5 separate regions of the Homo sapiens genome follow, and all the other regions are linked to region 5. Evidence: promoter capture Hi-C in 16 types of primary human blood cells and fetal thymus (Javierre and others, 2016). All regions are on one chromosome and are shown on one strand. The core of a region is centred on a gene start or on the middle of the fragment in contact, and the rest is flanking DNA. Distances in the headings are between cores, read along the strand shown. Region 1 holds the start of CDK14 (cyclin dependent kinase 14). Region 2 has its middle 32 kb from the start of MTERF1. Region 3 has its middle 13 kb from the start of MTERF1. Region 4 has its middle 93 kb from the start of MTERF1. Region 5 holds the start of FZD1 (frizzled class receptor 1).

What was found. The method cuts DNA at HindIII sites, captures the fragments that hold promoters and counts their contacts. A CHiCAGO score of 5 or more calls a contact.
Region 1: a contact is called between the fragment with the promoter of CDK14 here and the fragment with the promoter of FZD1 in region 5, in 1 of 17 cell types (monocytes). The highest score is 5.8, in monocytes.
Region 2: a fragment that was not itself captured here is called in contact with the fragment with the promoter of FZD1 in region 5 in 1 of 17 cell types (M2 macrophages); the score reaches 5.1 in M2 macrophages.
Region 3: a fragment that was not itself captured here is called in contact with the fragment with the promoter of FZD1 in region 5 in 1 of 17 cell types (erythroblasts); the score reaches 5.4 in erythroblasts.
Region 4: a contact is called between a fragment that was not itself captured here and the fragment with the promoter of FZD1 in region 5, in 1 of 17 cell types (endothelial precursors). The highest score is 6.7, in endothelial precursors.

What each region holds. Positions count from the first base shown.
Region 1 is chr7:90,594,524-90,598,412 of GRCh38, forward strand. It overlaps CDK14 (cyclin dependent kinase 14), which reads left to right and starts at 1,798. Exons shown (of 15, transcript NM_001287135.2): 1 at 1,798-2,195. The coding sequence starts at 2,105. RefSeq lists silencers at 1,406-1,605, 1,626-1,935, 2,126-2,325, 2,386-2,435. The HindIII fragment of the contact is 4,165 bases long and covers 1,043-3,889 here.
Region 2 is chr7:91,847,063-91,851,019 of GRCh38, forward strand. No RefSeq gene overlaps it. Among named protein-coding and RNA genes, the nearest start is that of MTERF1, 32 kb to the right of the region's middle. The HindIII fragment of the contact is 5,788 bases long and covers 1-3,957 here.
Region 3 is chr7:91,866,208-91,870,165 of GRCh38, forward strand. No RefSeq gene overlaps it. Among named protein-coding and RNA genes, the nearest start is that of MTERF1, 13 kb to the right of the region's middle. The HindIII fragment of the contact is 1,726 bases long and covers 1,046-2,771 here.
Region 4 is chr7:91,785,606-91,789,501 of GRCh38, forward strand. No RefSeq gene overlaps it. Among named protein-coding and RNA genes, the nearest start is that of MTERF1, 93 kb to the right of the region's middle. The HindIII fragment of the contact is 2,546 bases long and covers 836-3,381 here.
Region 5 is chr7:91,263,169-91,266,815 of GRCh38, forward strand. FZD1 (frizzled class receptor 1) reads left to right here and starts at 1,265. Exons shown (of 1, transcript NM_003505.2): 1 at 1,265-3,647. The coding sequence starts at 1,713. RefSeq lists an enhancer at 1,050-1,229 and silencers at 1,350-1,859, 1,950-2,009. The HindIII fragment of the contact is 4,268 bases long and covers 1-3,647 here.

The DNA.
Region 1 (3,889 bases), core at 548-3,047, 670 kb before region 5:
AAAAAAAAAAATACTGCGAAGGTAAAATAAACATATATTTAACATATTATATATTTGAAACAGCCATTGTCACAGTGGATAACAGTCACAGGTGTATAATAGTGAAAGTTCGTTAAATTAATATTTCTTCGTGTTTGTTGACTCGTACAACCCATTAGTGTTTTGATTGGTTGCATTTGTCTTTTCATTCATAACTGCTGAAAACTTTCTCCCTAACTAACCTGAGGAAGTGGTAAAAGTCAAACTTTTTTCCGGTATGAGGCCACCCTTGGTGCTGTCTGTAATTATCTAGACATGGCAGCCAGGATCCAACAGCTTTGCGTTTTAACTCATATGGTCTTTCCTGGCGAATTCCTTGCCCCCCTCTGCTCCCCACTTAGCTTGACTTCCTGTCTTTTATCATCCGCAATCTATCAAGATCCTACAATGTGCTCAGTGTAGGGCGGAACAAATCACTGTTTTACCTCACAATTTAAGGAAGGCAGGGGGCTAGTTTTTAAGATAAAAATCTTTTAACAAAACATAAACTCCCCAAAATTTCCTACAAGCCAAACAGCATTGTCACACCCTCACAAGCTCTTATTACTTACACAGCCAAATGACTCAAGATTACTAACGTTTCTATTCATAAGGAGTTTGCTGGCCTCAGATCAACACAATCAAGCCCTCCCCCACCTTCCTTCTCTCTCCCCTGGGAGACTGACGTTTGGAACTCACGCCGCACCAGGTTTTTTCAGAATGAAGACGATGTGTGTTCGCTGCTGGAACTGTTTGTCCTGGGATTTTATAAACACCTCCCCCACTCCTTTTTAAAGTTCTGTTTTTGAGGTGGGGGAAAAGGAGGTCGGAATCTGTTTAGCCTTTAAATCTCCCAATTCAGAAATATATTCTAAGAATTTAATAGAAAAAGACCAAGGGCTGTGTCTGCTATTTACTGCAGAACTGGGTATTCCTATCAGAAATCACCTACATGTGTCACCAAGATCAGAGACAAGGATGAGGGAAACAGCATGATCCCTGCCTTCTGGAGGGTTACAGTTGAAGCTTCCGCTGCTTCTGCACTTGACCTCAAAACAAACAAAAAACCCACCGCAAACAACAACAAAAAAATCCAGGCCCACCTTTCCCCTTGGATCTTTCACTTGACAGCTTTCTCGGCCCAAAATAAGGCACCCTACATCTGAATGCATCCCTAAGGCCTTACCGCACCCAGTCCAGGAGGCAGTCCTGGCAGCTGCCCTCCACCGAACTCCGCGCTTTTTCACACACGCTCGTGGAAGGAGAAAACCGCTCAAACAACTGGACTCGGCCCGTTTCCTTTCGGTAACCTCCCCACAGCCCAACACGCTGTCCCCAGACGCTGCCCGCTCCCACCCCGGTCCCTTCGTGATCCTCCCGCGCGCGGGCGGGGCGGGGGAGGAGCGCGGGGGCGGCCGGGAGGGGCGCGGCCGGGAGGGGGCGCCGCCGGGGCGCGAGCCAGACACAGAGGGCCGCGGAGGACGCGGGAGGCGAGCGGGGAGCCGAGGTCGTGCTAGGATCCCGCGCCCAGGGGCCTTCGTCGAGGGAGGGGCGTGGCGGCGGCAGCAGGAGGGCAGCAGGAGCTGTCAGGCTGGCGGTTCCGCGCCGCGGCTCCTTCTGCGCTGCGCCCGCAACTCTGGGCTGAGAACTTCTCCCGCCGGCCCACTCGCCCTCGCCCCGCGCACTCGGCGCCAGGCGACTCCCGCACCTTGTACCCGGCCCGCCCCGCCTCCTCCTTCGGCCGCACCACTCCCCCTGCCGGCCGCGCTTCTCTCCGTTACAAAGGAGGGAAAATGAGCCGGGCGGCGGCGGCGCGGCGCGGGGCCACCACGGCGGCGGCGAGCGCGGCCGCCCCCGGCACCACGTAAACCGCCCCCGCCCGCCCAGCTGCGGCCCAGGCCGGAGCGGAGCCTGCCGTCCTCCGCCTGCCTGCTGCTCGCCTCCCTAGACCTGCGCGTCGCTTCCCGGCCCGCCGAGGAGGTGGTGGAGGAGGAGGCGCCGCTTTCCCCGCGGCGCGCGCCCTCGCCGTTGTCTGAGCTGTGCCTGGACCAGTTTGGGGAAGTTGTCGGGGCTCCGCGTCGCCCAGATGTGTGACCTCATTGAGCCGCAGCCGGCCGAGAAGATCGGCAAGATGAAGAAGTTGCGGAGAACTTTGTCGGAGAGTTTCAGTCGCATTGGTGAGTAGCGCGCTGCCCCCGGCCCCCCCAGCGCCCGCTCCCCTCGGCCTGCGCCCCCGCCGCGTTCCTGGCACCAGCCATGCAGCTGCCAGCGGGGCTGGCGTGGGGTGCGTTGTAGGCGGGGATCGAGGGCACAGTGCTAGGGACCCGGGGGAGGGCAAGGACGTAAAGGAAAGAGACCCCTCTTCCTCAGGATCTGGGGGTTCATTTGTAGATTCTCTCAAGCCTACAATATGGGTTCTCCCCTCCTCCGCCACTAGTGCTCGCCCTTTCGCGCGCGTGGGGGACGGGCGAGGGGACCCCTCGGCCCCCACCGCGCAAGGGGCTGCGCGGCTGCTTGGGCCACTTGTTATTTTTTGCGCACAGGCTTGGATATTGGGCGTTTAGTCAGTAATTTAGCTTTGGAAATTGGTGAAACGTTAGACTGTGCCCTGGTATTGTTTAACGTATCCAACCTAAAGGGAAGTGGGACAGTTACCTTGGGACCTATTGTTCGGTACTTCGGGTCCTGGAAAGCGAGATTTGGGTGTTCAGTCTCGAGGTCTCTGAATCTTCCCGCTGCTGGAGAGAAATGCGCGCTGTGGAGTTGTCTGGACATTTAGGAATGTCTCTCGAACTTGTTCCATTTAATAGAGCTCAGGGGCTGTTGTCTTTAAACCAAACAACAAACCAACTGACCAACAGTGTTTAGGACAGTGACGAATAAATGCATGTCACAGGTTGTAATAGGGTGACAGCAGTATCACGTGGAATGGGTTTGTTAGATTTTGAGTACTGGGCATAGAAAACCCCTTTTAACCTGAAGAGTTAGCTGCCTCCCCTACTGTCACAACTTTCACTAATAACATGTAACTGCCCTGAGCAAGAGAATGCTATAGACACAAAAGATAACCCCTGCGAGTCCCTAGGAAGCTGCCTAGTCTTTGTTTCACTTGTTTTAAATGTCATCCATGTTAACGAAAGTGTTAATGGAAATTAAACATAAAGGTACTTAATTCCTTAAAATAAAACCCTGGGATGCACATGAGTGTTACAGATATCCTTCCACCCATTCATTGTAAGATATGCAAACTTTCTTCAAGTGAGAGAGTACAATGGATCGAAATTTAGCCAAGTTTTTTTTTTTTTTTTTGTCTTTCGACTTAAAATTTTGTGTTGGTATGCAAAATCTTTCCCCAGATGACTGTAAAGTTATGGTATGAAACCAATCTTTAGTTTTATTTATTGCATGTATTGGATATTAATTTCACTCTTCAGAATTAGGGATACATGTGGAGAGTCCCTGCATTAAGATGAAGTTTGAAGCCAAGAAGAGTGTGAGAGAGGGAAATGTTGAGTCGTGTGCATTATTAACGAGGATGTTTCAACCCTGACCCAAACCGTCGCAGAGGCGGGTTCTGGAGTCCATTAAGCCGTGTTCTAAAACACATTAACTATATATTTACTAATGCTAATGATTCTGCTGGAGCCCCTCCAGTTTTGTGTTAAATAATTCATTGCAATTGAGTCTCAGTAAGAAACCAAGGACATTAATCTAAAAGTTCCTTATATTTAAATAATTTCAAGGTTTTGATCGACAATCAGTAAAATTTGGATTAAGTACAGTGCTGGCAAATGGGGGTATTATAGTTAATTGGATTTTCTAGCTTACTGAGATTTAGTGATGTGAAACTCCTTTTGAATCCAACTCTTGT
Region 2 (3,957 bases), core at 1,421-3,920, 590 kb after region 5:
CTCTGAAGTTTATGATTTTTTTTCCATTGAACATATACATTTATATAGGGTATAATTCTATTCTCTCACATAAGACAACCATATTTTCAAACAAAGTTTCCATATCATAAGTGATACATGTATGAACTTGTCATTTTTGTAAATCTATTTAATTAAATTATTCTTTCTTTTAACCAAGAACTTTTTACTGTCCTAATGACTTATTATGTTAATTCAGGGCAACTGGCAAGAAGGAATTAGGTGCCATTCTGTTGTAACACGTCTCATTTCCATTCCAATTTTGTTCACAATAAATGTGTTACAGTTCTTCCATTGGCAGTCAAGGAAACCTCATACAAAAGCAGCTTTTACTTGCGGTTATAAAACAGCCAAGCAATACATACGCTATTTGACAGTTTGGAATATCTGTTTTCCAGCATTCATCTGGAGCTGTTATTGGAACCATTAAAATTATTTTCTTTATAGTTTTTAAAGGCCCACAACATGTTAATTTATCCTGATGGATGGTATAATGCGTTCATGTAAAAGAAAAACAAGTGTTACATAAAACATGACTAAGCTGTCAACCACCTCCTCTTTACCTTCCTTTTAACTCTGCATGTTTAATTTATTCTCCATTGAAAATGGCAACCAATAAAAAATAAAATCCCCATTTTGATTTACTTTTTACTTTTCACACCCCTTATCACACTGAGCAATTTTTTGATCCAAAATAAGACTGAAACTTCTGCCTTCACACAAAAGTAAACACAGATGGTCCGATAATAGTAGCGAACTTTACACAAACTGCCCCATTTGAAGCAGGCCTATTTAATGCCACATTTCATTAAATATGACCTATCTTAAATCGGACAGGCTCTCCTGCAAGGAGCCAATCTTTATCTTTATTTAAACTCAGTGTGGCCTGTCACTATAAAAGACTTTGCCTTCTTTGAACAAGGGTAGACATTAAAGCTAAAGAACAGGGTGGGCCTCCTTACCCCAGCCAGGCCAATCCAATTTACAAACAGATTGTATTCAAAGGCTCTTTTGTCAGTCTATTGTAGGATTTTAAAAGCATTTTACCACAGAAACAATGTTATACCCACTGGTTAGGTTCTTAAGAAAGGTCATTTAAAAGGTTAAAAGCCTATTTAACCCAACATATAGTTGTGCTGATATTTTAATAGGAATAAAACGCACCTGTGTTAAGTAATACTATGGAATGATGTATAATAATGTCTCTGAGGAAATTCATTAAGAATTCTGACCTTTTATGCCTGTGACACAACTTCTGGTAACATCATCCTCACTTCCCTCTTGCAGACCTCCCCTGCTACTGGGCAACAGGAGTTCAACTTCCTTGTCCTAAATATAAACCACCAGTATTGGCCACTATCATCTGGAGCCAGGGCTCCAGCATAGTGGAAGATTTATGTAAGGGCGTATGAAGACAGAGACTGGGTCTGAGGGGTGAAAGTATGGGATGGGGTCTAGGAAGTTAGGAATCGACAAAAGTCTTCTGCCAGGGTACACCTCAGGCCTCACTCCTTGGTCTAGCCTGTACACCATCATTCTTTTCTTCCAGCAGCCCTGGGATTGTTCTGATTCCCCTCCAACTGCTACCACCTGTTGCTTCCACCAAGGTTTCACTCTTCCTCCTGGTCTACTGCATCACAGAACAGCAGTCTTGGCTTTTCTCCTTTGTTCCCACGTATCCTTTTGAAGTTTCCTAAAGATTGTTACAGCTGCTAACAAAGGAGGTCAAGAGATAAAAGTGTTTTTCCAAATTTGCCTTCCACATCTTTTCTTTTTTAATTGAGACTAAGTTGAGAAAAAAGCACACTTGGATAACAATCGGTTTGGTGGGGGTGGGGGACAAAAAAAGGTATAAATTTGTTTTACAACATTTAAGAGCAAGACAGCTCACATTAAATGGATATGTTCTACTCAGAAAAAAAAAAAATCTGGCTCTGCCCTCACCAGCCAGAAGTATCAAGATATTCCAATTCACTTTTGGGTGACTGCCTTCTCCTCTTCAATGCCCCCCACCAGCATGGGGAAGCAGGATGGTGCCCTGAAAACAAAGTAAATCTCTTATGATCCTTAGGCCATCATGATCACACATGAGATGTTAATTGCCTCAGTCCACCAGTCCATTCAAAGAAGGACCACACCATTCTTCTGTGCCAGGGATCTTTTAAGCCAGCTTCCATGACAGTTATAAATGTTTGCTGTCCACAGTATCAACATGAACCACCTCAACTCTCCATCCAAAGACTTATTAAAAGGCAAGGGGACAGGTTGCAACCATTCATTAAGCTATCACCCAGATTAGTACTCCCCCCAAATCTCTGAAAGCTATTTCCATTCCTGCCAGTTCTGTTTCCTCTGCCCTCCCAGAAAACCCCTCACCTTCATGCTCCCATTGCCTCCCTCCCTCAACATCTCTAATCCCAAAACAATAACATGGGTGATGGGGTTTTATTCCAGAGACCAAGAAACTTCCATTTTCATCCATGTTATTTTTCAGGTCTGCCATATAAAGGCAGTTTATAATACCTTGAAGCTAGGAATCCCAGAATCAGAACATAACAGCTCCTGGGGATAATGGAAACAACAACAAAATGTCAATAAATTATCCTGACAAATACATTTTAGAGGAATGCTCAGTCTCAGGTTTATCCAGTTATTCCATGATAGGTCTGCTGTGAAGACCAAGCCAGGACCTTAGATATGGGTACTGAGTAAATGGCATAGAGGATGAAGATGCTACCAAAGAGACCTGCATACTGGGCCTGAGAGAACCCCACCAATAGCAGGGGATGTTTACTCTCCCCTTCCCTTTTCAGTATTCTTTTCTCTCTGCTTTATGATCTTGTGATTCATTCATTTGCAATATATAATCTCTAAAGCCAACATTTATAACAGGCTTACCATATACCAGGCGGTATGACAAATAAATGATTAGTGTGATTATTTTAATTCTCACAACTCAGTAAAATAGTTTATTATTACAACTTACAGATAAGGAAACTGACAACCTTAAAAAAGTATTATATACATTTAAAGCTACAAAGAACTTATAGCTAAAAAGAGAATATAAGACTTCCTAATTATCAGAACAAAAGAACAAAACATAACAAAAATCAAAGAAAATACACCATATGGTGAAATTTTTAAAAATCAATAAACACAGAAAATATAACCTAAAATATGATGTTAATACTGAGGCAAAAAATATCTGTCATATAACTAAATGTATATGGGATAAACTCTATTTAAATAAAAGAGTTCCAGTTTTCAATAAAGGTGGTCTAGGATTTGGTGGCCTCACTCAGAAAGTTGAACTTTGCTTATTTTGAGGGTGCTCATCCCCATGGAGCATTTAATGATTCTGAAAGGGGCAGCTGAGAGGCTAAGCAGGGCTTTTGATAGCACTAGGTGAGGGACAGACTAAACTACAGATCCTGAAGGAAAAGGAGGACTCATAAATACTCTTCATTTTGGCTTCAGACCAAGGAGATACCTAGAAGGAAAGGTAAAGCAGAAGTAGGCAGACCTACACAGTGTTAAATTGTTTCAGTCCCTGAAATTGGAATGAGGTGAGTCACAGATTGCTAAGGCCCAAAGGTATTTGGCAGAAAACATAAATCTTCTATGGAAGAAGTTAGTATCATTCCATGTCTCAAATGTTTTCTAAACCTTGGCAAATATGATGTCAGGTACACAATAAAAAATAACCAGGCACATGAAGAAACAAGACAGTTTGAATGCAAGCCAGAACAACTGAAAATACAAATTTAAAAAAGGCTCCAGATATTGAAGTTATCATGTATGGACTTTAAAATAAGTATTTTTGATAGATATATAGATACATGGAAAGATATATGATATAGGAGGTATAATAAAATGTAAGGAGTGGAATATAGACGACAGGTAGATGTTAACTGTAAAATTCTTTCAACTTTTATATGT
Region 3 (3,958 bases), core at 659-3,158, 600 kb after region 5:
TCTAGAACTATTTACCAAATCACAGTTAAGTGGGCAAGGTCATTAAAGCAGCTATTAGATGCCATGGGAGACCCAAGAGCACATGCATTTGTTTGCAACTTTTTCTAAATGATGGAGAAATCAAGGATAGTTTATAATGTGCATATAACATTTAGTCTCACAACAAAATCTGATTCCCTCACTTCAGATGTCACAATTAGGATCTCTATTTAAAAAAACTCCTAAACCCCCAAAAAGATGAAAATTTAAGATCAGTTGCAATCATGTGGAGAACATACCACTTTATGTTGGGTTTTGTGTACAAATACACAACAAATACCACCACAGAAGTTGACAGGTGAAAATTAAGTAAGAACAGAAGATTTGGCAGTAGTAACTGAATAAGTATAAAGACATTGCTGTATATTTTTAAGCATTAACATTGTGTAACAAACAAGGTGTTAAACTTAGATGAAAATGAAAAAAGCACCCTAATGTAATTTCAGAACTAAGACAATGAAAAATGAAAAAGTGGTACTTGAAAAAGAAAGAAAGAGAGAGAGAGAGGAAGGAAGGAAGGAAGGAAGGAAGGAAGGAAGGAAGAAAGGAAGGAAGGAAGGAAGGGAGAGAGAAAAGAAAAAGAATAACCATTAAAAGAAAACAGTTTCAGACATTAAACTAACAGGGAAATATATATATGCAAAAGTATCTGTTTATTTTCTTACAGCTTAAGGCTGACAACCTACAGAAAAAATGGCACAGTGCCGACCTCTTTTGGCATTTAAAGGACGCTTAATTTAGTTTGGATTATCAGCCAGATTTAGAGCTAATTGGCTTTAGAAACTGTACAGCAAAACCTCTATCTAGTTCCCCCTACAGTTCATGAAGTTCTACACACAAGTAAACACAGATTAAGACCTAATTTTAATCTTTTTAATCAGTTATATATAATTTATATACTTGTTATCACAAAGTTAAACTTTAATTCTGTGAATAATTTATCACATTCAGCTAAAACAGTAAGCTATAGCCAGCTGTATTGTACTTATATGAATTGCAAACATAAAGCTTCATTCAGAAGGGCTTCTGAAGTAGCTGTGCAGGTCAGAGAGAGAAATTCAAACATACAGAGTGGGATAATGCTGATCTAACTGCACTAATTTTGTCATAGACACTTTAGTTGATATTTAGGGTACAACATGACAATCAGTTCTCCCTAACTGCAGTAAAGCAAAAAAAAAAAAAAAAAAAAAAAAAAAAAAGATTGCCTCTAACTTGGGTGGTTGCAGCCTACTTTCCTTGGAAAAGGAGGCTATATGTAGCTGTATGACAGCGTAAACCCAATCCATTAACTAATTAAATAAACCAGTGCTTAACAGGGCATGGGACTTCATAAGAGCCTTTGTTTTCTTGTGACGAAAAGGTCAAAATCTAGGTTTTTTTTTTTTCTTCTTTAAGAGATGGTGGCTTCCTATGTTGCCCAGGATGGACTCAAACTCCTGGGCTCAAGGAATCCTCTCATCTCAGGCTCCCGAGTAGCTAGGAATACAGACACGAGCCACCATGTCTAGCTGGAAGTTAGACTTTATCTGCATTCCTGGAATAGTAAAAGCAAAGCACGGGTCAGCTGCTTTCGGTAAATTCTAGCCCATAGGTCCAAGTCAAGTTCCAGGAAGCCCCCTATGAAAAAGATTCTGATATTAGTACCAGTGTTTAGTTCATGTCATGGCCTGACTTAAGTATAGGTCATTAAGTGTAATGCCAAGGCAGGGGCTTGAGTGGTTTGGAGCTCATGACTGTTCCACTTGGAATTTATCCTGGTGTATGAATACGAATCTATCAATATTTTTTTTCAGGTGGCTTCCCAGTTCTCCCAACACTTTTACTGAAAAGATACTGTCTAACTATTTATGTCAATATAGAAACATAAAGTCAAATATATTTGTTTAGTAGACTTGAAGAGAGCCTAGAAACACACTCAGAGACATGTAAACAGCATCAGACGAAGATGGCATTTCAAATCAGAGTTGAATGGATTTTTCAGCTTTGCTGAGGTATAACTGAAGTGTACTAAACTGCACATATTTAAAACATATAATTTGATACATTTTGACTCACAAAACAATCACCACAATCAAGATGATGAATATATAGATCACTCCCAAAAGTTTCCCTGTAGTCTTTTGCAGTCCTTTCTTCATGGCCTTCTTCATCCATCCACCCCATCTCGGTAACCAATGATCTGCTTTCTGTCACCACAAATTAGTGAGCACTGTCTAGAATTTTATGTAAACTGAATAATAAAGATTTTACTCTTTCGCTTCTTTCATTCAGCATATTTTGAGATTTGCTCATGTAGTTGCATGTATCAATATTTCATTATTTCATATTGGTGAGTAATATTCCACTGCCTGAATATATCACAATGTACTTTTCAATTCCATGTTGTTCCAATGTCCATTGGGTTACTTCCAGTTTTTGGTTATTCCAAGTAAAGCTGTTTGAACAAGTACAATTATTTGAATAGACATAAAGCATGGCAATGTTAATTTCAATGTAGAATTCAAACCAAAATGTATTAACTACAATAAGAGAGAGCTTTATATTGCTGTCTACCAAAAAGATACAGGTCAATAGCTTTCATATAAGCCTTTACAACAACTTTCCATTGTTGTAAAAGATCTATTCTGAACAAAACACCAGGCCCAGATAATTTCAAAGTTGTGCCAAACTTTAAAGAAATGATCATTTCCAGTTTTCAAACAGTTTCAAAACATAGGGAAAAAATAGTAAGCTTCCAAATTATCTTGAGGCTAGCACAGCCCCGATCCAAAAACCTGACAAAGTGGCAACCTCCTTCCCCTATTAAAAAAAAAAAAAAAAAAAAAAAAAATCTATGTACCAAAACTTTCATAATAAAAGGTAGGAAGGATCTGTAGACCAATCTCCCTTGTGAATACTAATGAAAATCTAAGTAAAATATTAGTAAATTGAATAGGGCATAGGTTTTAAGTAAAAACAAAAAGTGATATGCAGAAATCCACTGATGTCATTCATTAAATGATTAAGAGATTACTTTTAAAGGATTTTTTTTCAAAAACCATCTTTCATCCCTGATTTAAATAAATAAACCCCTTTGTGAACTAAGAATAAAAGGATATCTCTTCAACCTCATGATAAATAGGTTAGCTGAGACTTTGTTTCTTTGTATTGTTCAAAGACTTTTACAATGATTATTACCACAGAATAAATTCATTTCCAAGGTAAACTTTTAAAAGAAAGAGAATTATGGTGGGCAGAATTTGAAGGTACCTTGAGAGCTGGTGAAAGTGGCACTGGGATATTCAAAATGGAAATGAAAGAATTAGCATATCATCATACTAAAATTGTTCATAATTAACATAAAGCAATTCATGTACAAAAGTTCATTAATCTTCACATAATATTTCTATTAAGGACAAATAAATCCCAAATACTGATCAGAAAAATAGTGAAACTGAGACAGAAAATGAAATTCCATCAGTGTATCTTCTATTTCTTCCCAAAATCTAATAATAATACAGTCCTGCTATTCTAGCTCGCTTGTGCCAAACTTTTCCTGAACTGTATAACAATGGACTATTACCAAAGTTTGTGGCTAGGGTTCTGCCATCAACAGTTCTCTACTGGATCTCCACTAGATGGTAGCAAGTAAGGAGGCATTACAGACTAACAAGGAAGGAGCCAGTAGTCAGGGTTTTGTTTTGTTTTTTTACAGGAAAGCTATATTGTTGGATCTTTAGCCATAGACCATGTACCTACCCAGCCTTAGAAATTATTTAAGGGGAGAAATTACTAGTTTAATAACCCAATAAACCCATCTATAAATATTCACTTTTTAAATTCCTTCCTGCTAAATTCATCTGGAAGAAACTCATTTTTTTTCTTTTTAATCTGTGATATTATCCAAATTCTTGCAGTTATTTGAAAGTGCTCAAAT
Region 4 (3,896 bases), core at 859-3,358, 520 kb after region 5:
GTTCTCTCTTATTCTAAAGTTTTTTCTTTTGTCACAATATTATTCTTCCTTCTCCCTTCTCCAGTAATGATAACTGCAGTTAAAACTCTCAAGTGACTTTTTAACCAAAATGTTTAGTGCTCAACTGTTGAACCCTTATTATATATGTAGGTTATTCTATCTTAGCAGTAAACTTGAGGGGAATGTTATAGGAACATTATAGAAACAAATTAACTTGTAAACATGAATATAAAATTATTGCAAAACTCAGGAAATCAAATGTAAAATGTTAATATCAGAAGAAACTGGGTGACGGGCATATGGGAACTCTGTAGTATCTTGGCAACTTTTCCATATATATAAAATTATTTCAAAGCAAAAGCTTGATTAAAAAAAAAAAGTTCAGGGAATCAGAACCAGAGTCACAGGTATTAATTTGTCTTCTCTCCAACAGCTTTGCCAGATTGAGGTTTCTTTTCCTCTTTTGCACATTTATTTATGTATTCTATACACTCGGGCCCCCTTACATCAGTAAGGAATTGGAGCTGTCATCTTACTCCATAGGAGAAAGGCCAGCCTGGTGGCTCCTTGTTTGAAGTTCCCTGCTCAAATGCCAATGTAGATAGGGGCATGATTGCTCTGTGAGCTTAGCCAGGTCACTTCCCTCTCTGCACTTTGTTTTCATCTTATGCCTAAAGGGACAGATAATACTTACCTCCCACCTCTACTTGAAAAGGAAGGAAGGCTAAAAAGTTAATCTGAACATATTTTTATAAAGGAAAAACATTTTTAAGTTCCAGTTTTGTACATAATACAGAATATTAATATCTACTGTTTTTGTCAGCCTTAGATAGTAAGCTTCTTGAAGCAGATCCTGCTCTTTGATTCACAATAGATACTCTTGAGTCGCTTCACAAATAATGATGCCAATTCTTAACTCTTAAGTTTTCATCCTGAAATTTCAGATTAATTTAGAGTAGCTTTTGCAGCCACCCATGAGTACATTGGTGTTAATGATGCACCCATTTTCCTTTCCTCAATGTTTGCTTTACTTCTAATAGAGCACAAGAGCCTAAAAATCTACCTTTAGAACATTATTTACATCCTGAGAAAGGACTTGTGCCCAGAATCACATGATAACACATAGACCTTGACTCAAGGGCCAACTTGTACTCTCCCATTTGGCTGCCATTTCACTCCTGACGCTGTCTCTGTTTAACCTTTTGGCCCCTCAAGAGAAGTAGCAGAAGCCACTGAATGAGGAATGGGGGTTCTCAGAAGTCACTGAGATTAAAGGGGTCCACCCTGCAGGAACAGCATTTCTCTCTTCCTAGGCAGTTTTTGCTGCTCCTGTCAGGTGGTAAGAAGAGGAGAGAGGTTTTTATTATTATTATTATTAATCCCAAACTGTCAACTTCAAAGGAGGAATTTAGAAGTTTCACAATTAGAAAAAATACATAATGTAATGGTTGCTGGTGATGTACACAGCCTATGTTAAGGAGAGAGACAGAGCCTAAAGATTCTTACCCCAGTGGAGCGCCACTCGGACTTATGCATGAGGAAATCTATTTACCATATGTTAGCTTCATGCTCTCCTCTTTCTTCTAAGGAAAAATTTGCTTTTCTGAGGACATGACGGACTTTTCTTTCCTACAGGCCTAGATAATATATTACTTAGCCTTGAGAAACTGAGAAATCCCCCACTGTGTCACCTTCTAGAGCCCCTGTCAACCCTTTGCAACTCCAAGAGACAAGTCACTCCTACTTTCCAGAAAACATTCAGAAGCAAGCACCAGCCCTTCCCCAGAGGTCAAGCAGCAGAAAGGGCCTTCCACTGCAGGTGTGAGAGAAAATCTGAGCTCACTCCTTTATCGCCTTGCTTAGGGCTGGCTGTACAATCTCCTCATCAAAAAACATAGTGAGAACAATCAGCATATGGAAGGACCCAAATATAATCAGGATGTGAGGATCTGACAAAGTTCAAATACATTACAATTTAGAGCTGCTATGTCTAGTACGTTAACCACCAGCCACATGCAGCTACTTAAATTTAAATTTAAATAAATTAGAAACTTAGTTCTCCAGTCACACTAGCCAACAGTAGCTGTTGTATTGCACAGCCCAGATATAGAGCATTTCCATCATTGCAGAAATCTGTACTGGAAAGACTGATATAGCTAACACAGGAAAATACATTTTAATTCTTCAAATCCTACTATGTCATCTTTTATTCCTTTTAGTAAACATTTGTTGAACAACTACTTCCTGCAAGTCACTGGACAAGGTGCGGTAGAGCATAGAAAGATGAGTATGACTGTAAGTGGCCCTCAGGACCTTTGAGATTTAGAAATCTAAGATAAGTAACTATCTATAAGATAGAAATACATACCGTAGAGAAAGAACAACCAAATTGTTGTGCTTAAACAAGTAGAAATGTATGCAACCATTTCACACTGAGCTTCAGCAGTCCCAGAATTCCAAGATAACAAGTACTGTCCTGACTGAGAAGCTGCACATTTCCATGCTGTCGGTTCCATGGAAACAGCATTTGGATGTGTTCCATCAAAACTGCTTTGAAAAATGGTCCAAAGCAGAATTTACTTTTGTGAGAAAAAAATACAAAAAACATAAGAGGCACCACATGCTAATGGAAGTAGCACAAGATTTGGAGTCAGAAGATCTGTTTGAGAGCCAGCCTTATCCTTGCTACCTGTGTGATGCTGGGTAAGCCACTTAACTTCTCTGGGCCTCAGGATTCTCATTTTCAAAGTGGGAAAAATAATCCCTACCCCATATGCCCCATAAGGGAACACTGTAAAAATAATTAAGATACTGAAAGCACCTCAGAAGCAGTAGGATGCTATATTATTATTACCACAGAAAGTGACATGAAACTTTGGAGGACATATAAATCCATAACTGCAAGCAAGTAAATTTTAAAGGCATGTGGAAGGTTCAAGTTCTACACAGTGAATATAATCAAATTCTCAATCTGGGGATTTTTCTTAGATTTAAGAGCACAAACATATACTCCCTGAGCACCTTTATCTCTTCTACAGGGACCACAGCCAGGCCAAGTTCACTCCATCTTCATCCCAGAGGATAATTTGCCTCATGCCAGCATGAAGGACACCATAGCATCAAGGATGAACTTACTCTGAATGACAAATAATTAAAACTTCCTGGCTAGAACAAGTCAACCACTGAATGGGAAAATTGTATATTTTTGTTGTTGTTGTTTGCTTGTTTTGTTTTGTTTGGATATGGACAATAGAATGGATCAGTAGGATCATTGCTATCCTGTACAAATGGGAGGAAAGAAGGTCTTGGAACAATTGCTAGATATGTGTTCTGTTGATTTCATGAATAATTACAATAAGAATTTCACACTTTGTAATCACAAGCTTTTGAGTCTGTCCGTGAAAATGCTAAATGCTTCTGTAAACGTAAAATGATACCACTTTTACTTTCCTGCAACTCCCAGCAATAACATGGGATGATTTCTGTTTCAGCAGAGTGTGTGACCAGAATTGGGGTTTTTTCCAGATGTGCATAGAATGGTTTCAATTACCTAGTGCCATGCCTTAATTTTTGAGCATCCCCTTGAACCTATTGGGTTTGGCAGTTCCAGCAAAAGCATGGAACTGTGGAAGGGGCTGTCCAGCCATTCAAGCTATGGTTTCACCATACTCACCATGTACTGGCAAGAACTAGCGTGTAATAGAATAGAAATGCTTATGTTGGGATGCAAGGCACCGAATAGCATAAATTCTAAACAAGGAGGTCTAAGGTTAAAATAATAAACTTTAAATGATGTATGCCACATGTGACATTTTGGTTCCAGATGTAACAAAACCAAACCAAAGTCTTTTGCTAGACAATTCTAAAACAATATTACTCTCCTAGGTTTCTGATTC
Region 5 (3,647 bases), core at 15-2,514:
GTGTAAATGAATGATAGAAAGTAATTGGTGAAAAGTACGCTGAGATAGAGTCTGATCACAGGCAAAAAAAAAAAAAAAATGGAAGAATTAATAGTCCAATGGCACTTTTCTTATAAAACTGAATTACATAGTCAAACCATCATTTAAAATAATCTTACAAGGAAAACAACATTAATGTGCGTCTGTTGAGACGGATTATGCTGTTTTGGAATTAGGAAGAGAATGTGCAGTTCGCTGTTTGCTTTCAGACTGTTTGTTTGTTTTGTTTATTAAACTGGCGTCTCCAGCTCTGCAGCCCAGCCTGTGGAACCTAAATGGCCCAGGTCCCAGGAGTTCCCATCGGAGCCGTGGGCGTCCCCAGGGTTTAGAAAGGCTCCCCAGGGGCCCAAGCTGCCGGCGAGTGCAGCTCCCGCCGGCGCCACCTCTGCGGTCTGGAGCGGCGAGGACGATCCCAGAGAGGCGCCCCCACTGCCTCGGTCGTCGGGTTCTTAAGTTTTTCTCTCCAAAAATTTAATGGATAGTTTTCTTTTGCTTCTGTTTCTGACTTGATTAAAGAGGCGGAAAAAAAGGAGTTTGACTCCAAGAAGAATGATAGTAGCAGAAGGCGCATCTGGCTTTACTTTCCAAATTCCATCAAAGTTTGTGTTTTGTTTCATTTGACAGCGATCCCGTGAACGTCTCCTCTGGGGAAATGGCGCGACCAAAGCCCGCCAAGCCCAGCCTGCGAACTGGAGGATTTATTAATGTAATATGTTAAACAAAACCTCGACAGACACAAACTCAAAGGAAACCGTGCGCTCCTTAAGTCAAAGGCATCTGTTCTGGAAGCAGAACCCGGTTTGCTGTTGGTAACCAGCGTTAAGAGCAGGATTTTTAAACATGATAATGGATAAAATAAAAGAAAAGCGAAGTCCCGCGGTCCTCTGACTCCTATTCATTATCTCCAGCAGCATATGGGACCATTCTCCTACGTATCCTCGCCTTTTTCTTCTGAAAAAGCAAAAGCAACCAAGCCTGTCCCGCTTCAGAGCAATCCTACTCTTTGTGCCTGAGTAGTGCCACCACCACTACTTCCTCCTCCTCCCGCCTCCTCCTACCCCGCCCTCCTGCCGCTGGCTTTCGCTCTGGCGAGGAGGCGGCCGGCTCCCTTTGCGCCGGGAAGCCGGAGCCGCGATTGGGCGACGGTCCCTGAGCCTCCAGTTCTGCGTCGGTTTCAAGGCTCCTCCCTCCTGGTGAAAGACAGACTACGGGGCGCCTGGAAACCGGTCCGAGGGCGCGCGAGGCAGAGGAGAGGGAGCGAGTTGAGGGATTGACACAAATGGTCAGGCGGCGGCGGCGGAGAAGGAGGCGGAGGCGCAGGGGGGAGCCGAGCCCGCTGGGCTGCGGAGAGTTGCGCTCTCTACGGGGCCGCGGCCACTAGCGCGGCGCCGCCAGCCGGGAGCCAGCGAGCCGAGGGCCAGGAAGGCGGGACACGACCCCGGCGCGCCCTAGCCACCCGGGTTCTCCCCGCCGCCCGCGCTTCATGAATCGCAAGTTTCCGCGGCGGCGGCGGCTGCGGTACGCAGAACAGGAGCCGGGGGAGCGGGCCGAAAGCGGCTTGGGCTCGACGGAGGGCACCCGCGCAGAGGTCTCCCTGGCCGCAGGGGGAGCCGCCGCCGGCCGTGCCCCTGGCAGCCCCAGCGGAGCGGCGCCAAGAGAGGAGCCGAGAAAGTATGGCTGAGGAGGAGGCGCCTAAGAAGTCCCGGGCCGCCGGCGGTGGCGCGAGCTGGGAACTTTGTGCCGGGGCGCTCTCGGCCCGGCTGGCGGAGGAGGGCAGCGGGGACGCCGGTGGCCGCCGCCGCCCGCCAGTTGACCCCCGGCGATTGGCGCGCCAGCTGCTGCTGCTGCTTTGGCTGCTGGAGGCTCCGCTGCTGCTGGGGGTCCGGGCCCAGGCGGCGGGCCAGGGGCCAGGCCAGGGGCCCGGGCCGGGGCAGCAACCGCCGCCGCCGCCTCAGCAGCAACAGAGCGGGCAGCAGTACAACGGCGAGCGGGGCATCTCCGTCCCGGACCACGGCTATTGCCAGCCCATCTCCATCCCGCTGTGCACGGACATCGCGTACAACCAGACCATCATGCCCAACCTGCTGGGCCACACGAACCAGGAGGACGCGGGCCTGGAGGTGCACCAGTTCTACCCTCTAGTGAAAGTGCAGTGTTCCGCTGAGCTCAAGTTCTTCCTGTGCTCCATGTACGCGCCCGTGTGCACCGTGCTAGAGCAGGCGCTGCCGCCCTGCCGCTCCCTGTGCGAGCGCGCGCGCCAGGGCTGCGAGGCGCTCATGAACAAGTTCGGCTTCCAGTGGCCAGACACGCTCAAGTGTGAGAAGTTCCCGGTGCACGGCGCCGGCGAGCTGTGCGTGGGCCAGAACACGTCCGACAAGGGCACCCCGACGCCCTCGCTGCTTCCAGAGTTCTGGACCAGCAACCCTCAGCACGGCGGCGGAGGGCACCGTGGCGGCTTCCCGGGGGGCGCCGGCGCGTCGGAGCGAGGCAAGTTCTCCTGCCCGCGCGCCCTCAAGGTGCCCTCCTACCTCAACTACCACTTCCTGGGGGAGAAGGACTGCGGCGCACCTTGTGAGCCGACCAAGGTGTATGGGCTCATGTACTTCGGGCCCGAGGAGCTGCGCTTCTCGCGCACCTGGATTGGCATTTGGTCAGTGCTGTGCTGCGCCTCCACGCTCTTCACGGTGCTTACGTACCTGGTGGACATGCGGCGCTTCAGCTACCCGGAGCGGCCCATCATCTTCTTGTCCGGCTGTTACACGGCCGTGGCCGTGGCCTACATCGCCGGCTTCCTCCTGGAAGACCGAGTGGTGTGTAATGACAAGTTCGCCGAGGACGGGGCACGCACTGTGGCGCAGGGCACCAAGAAGGAGGGCTGCACCATCCTCTTCATGATGCTCTACTTCTTCAGCATGGCCAGCTCCATCTGGTGGGTGATCCTGTCGCTCACCTGGTTCCTGGCGGCTGGCATGAAGTGGGGCCACGAGGCCATCGAAGCCAACTCACAGTATTTTCACCTGGCCGCCTGGGCTGTGCCGGCCATCAAGACCATCACCATCCTGGCGCTGGGCCAGGTGGACGGCGATGTGCTGAGCGGAGTGTGCTTCGTGGGGCTTAACAACGTGGACGCGCTGCGTGGCTTCGTGCTGGCGCCCCTCTTCGTGTACCTGTTTATCGGCACGTCCTTTCTGCTGGCCGGCTTTGTGTCGCTCTTCCGCATCCGCACCATCATGAAGCACGATGGCACCAAGACCGAGAAGCTGGAGAAGCTCATGGTGCGCATTGGCGTCTTCAGCGTGCTGTACACTGTGCCAGCCACCATCGTCATCGCCTGCTACTTCTACGAGCAGGCCTTCCGGGACCAGTGGGAACGCAGCTGGGTGGCCCAGAGCTGCAAGAGCTACGCTATCCCCTGCCCTCACCTCCAGGCGGGCGGAGGCGCCCCGCCGCACCCGCCCATGAGCCCGGACTTCACGGTCTTCATGATTAAGTACCTTATGACGCTGATCGTGGGCATCACGTCGGGCTTCTGGATCTGGTCCGGCAAGACCCTCAACTCCTGGAGGAAGTTCTACACGAGGCTCACCAACAGCAAACAAGGGGAGACT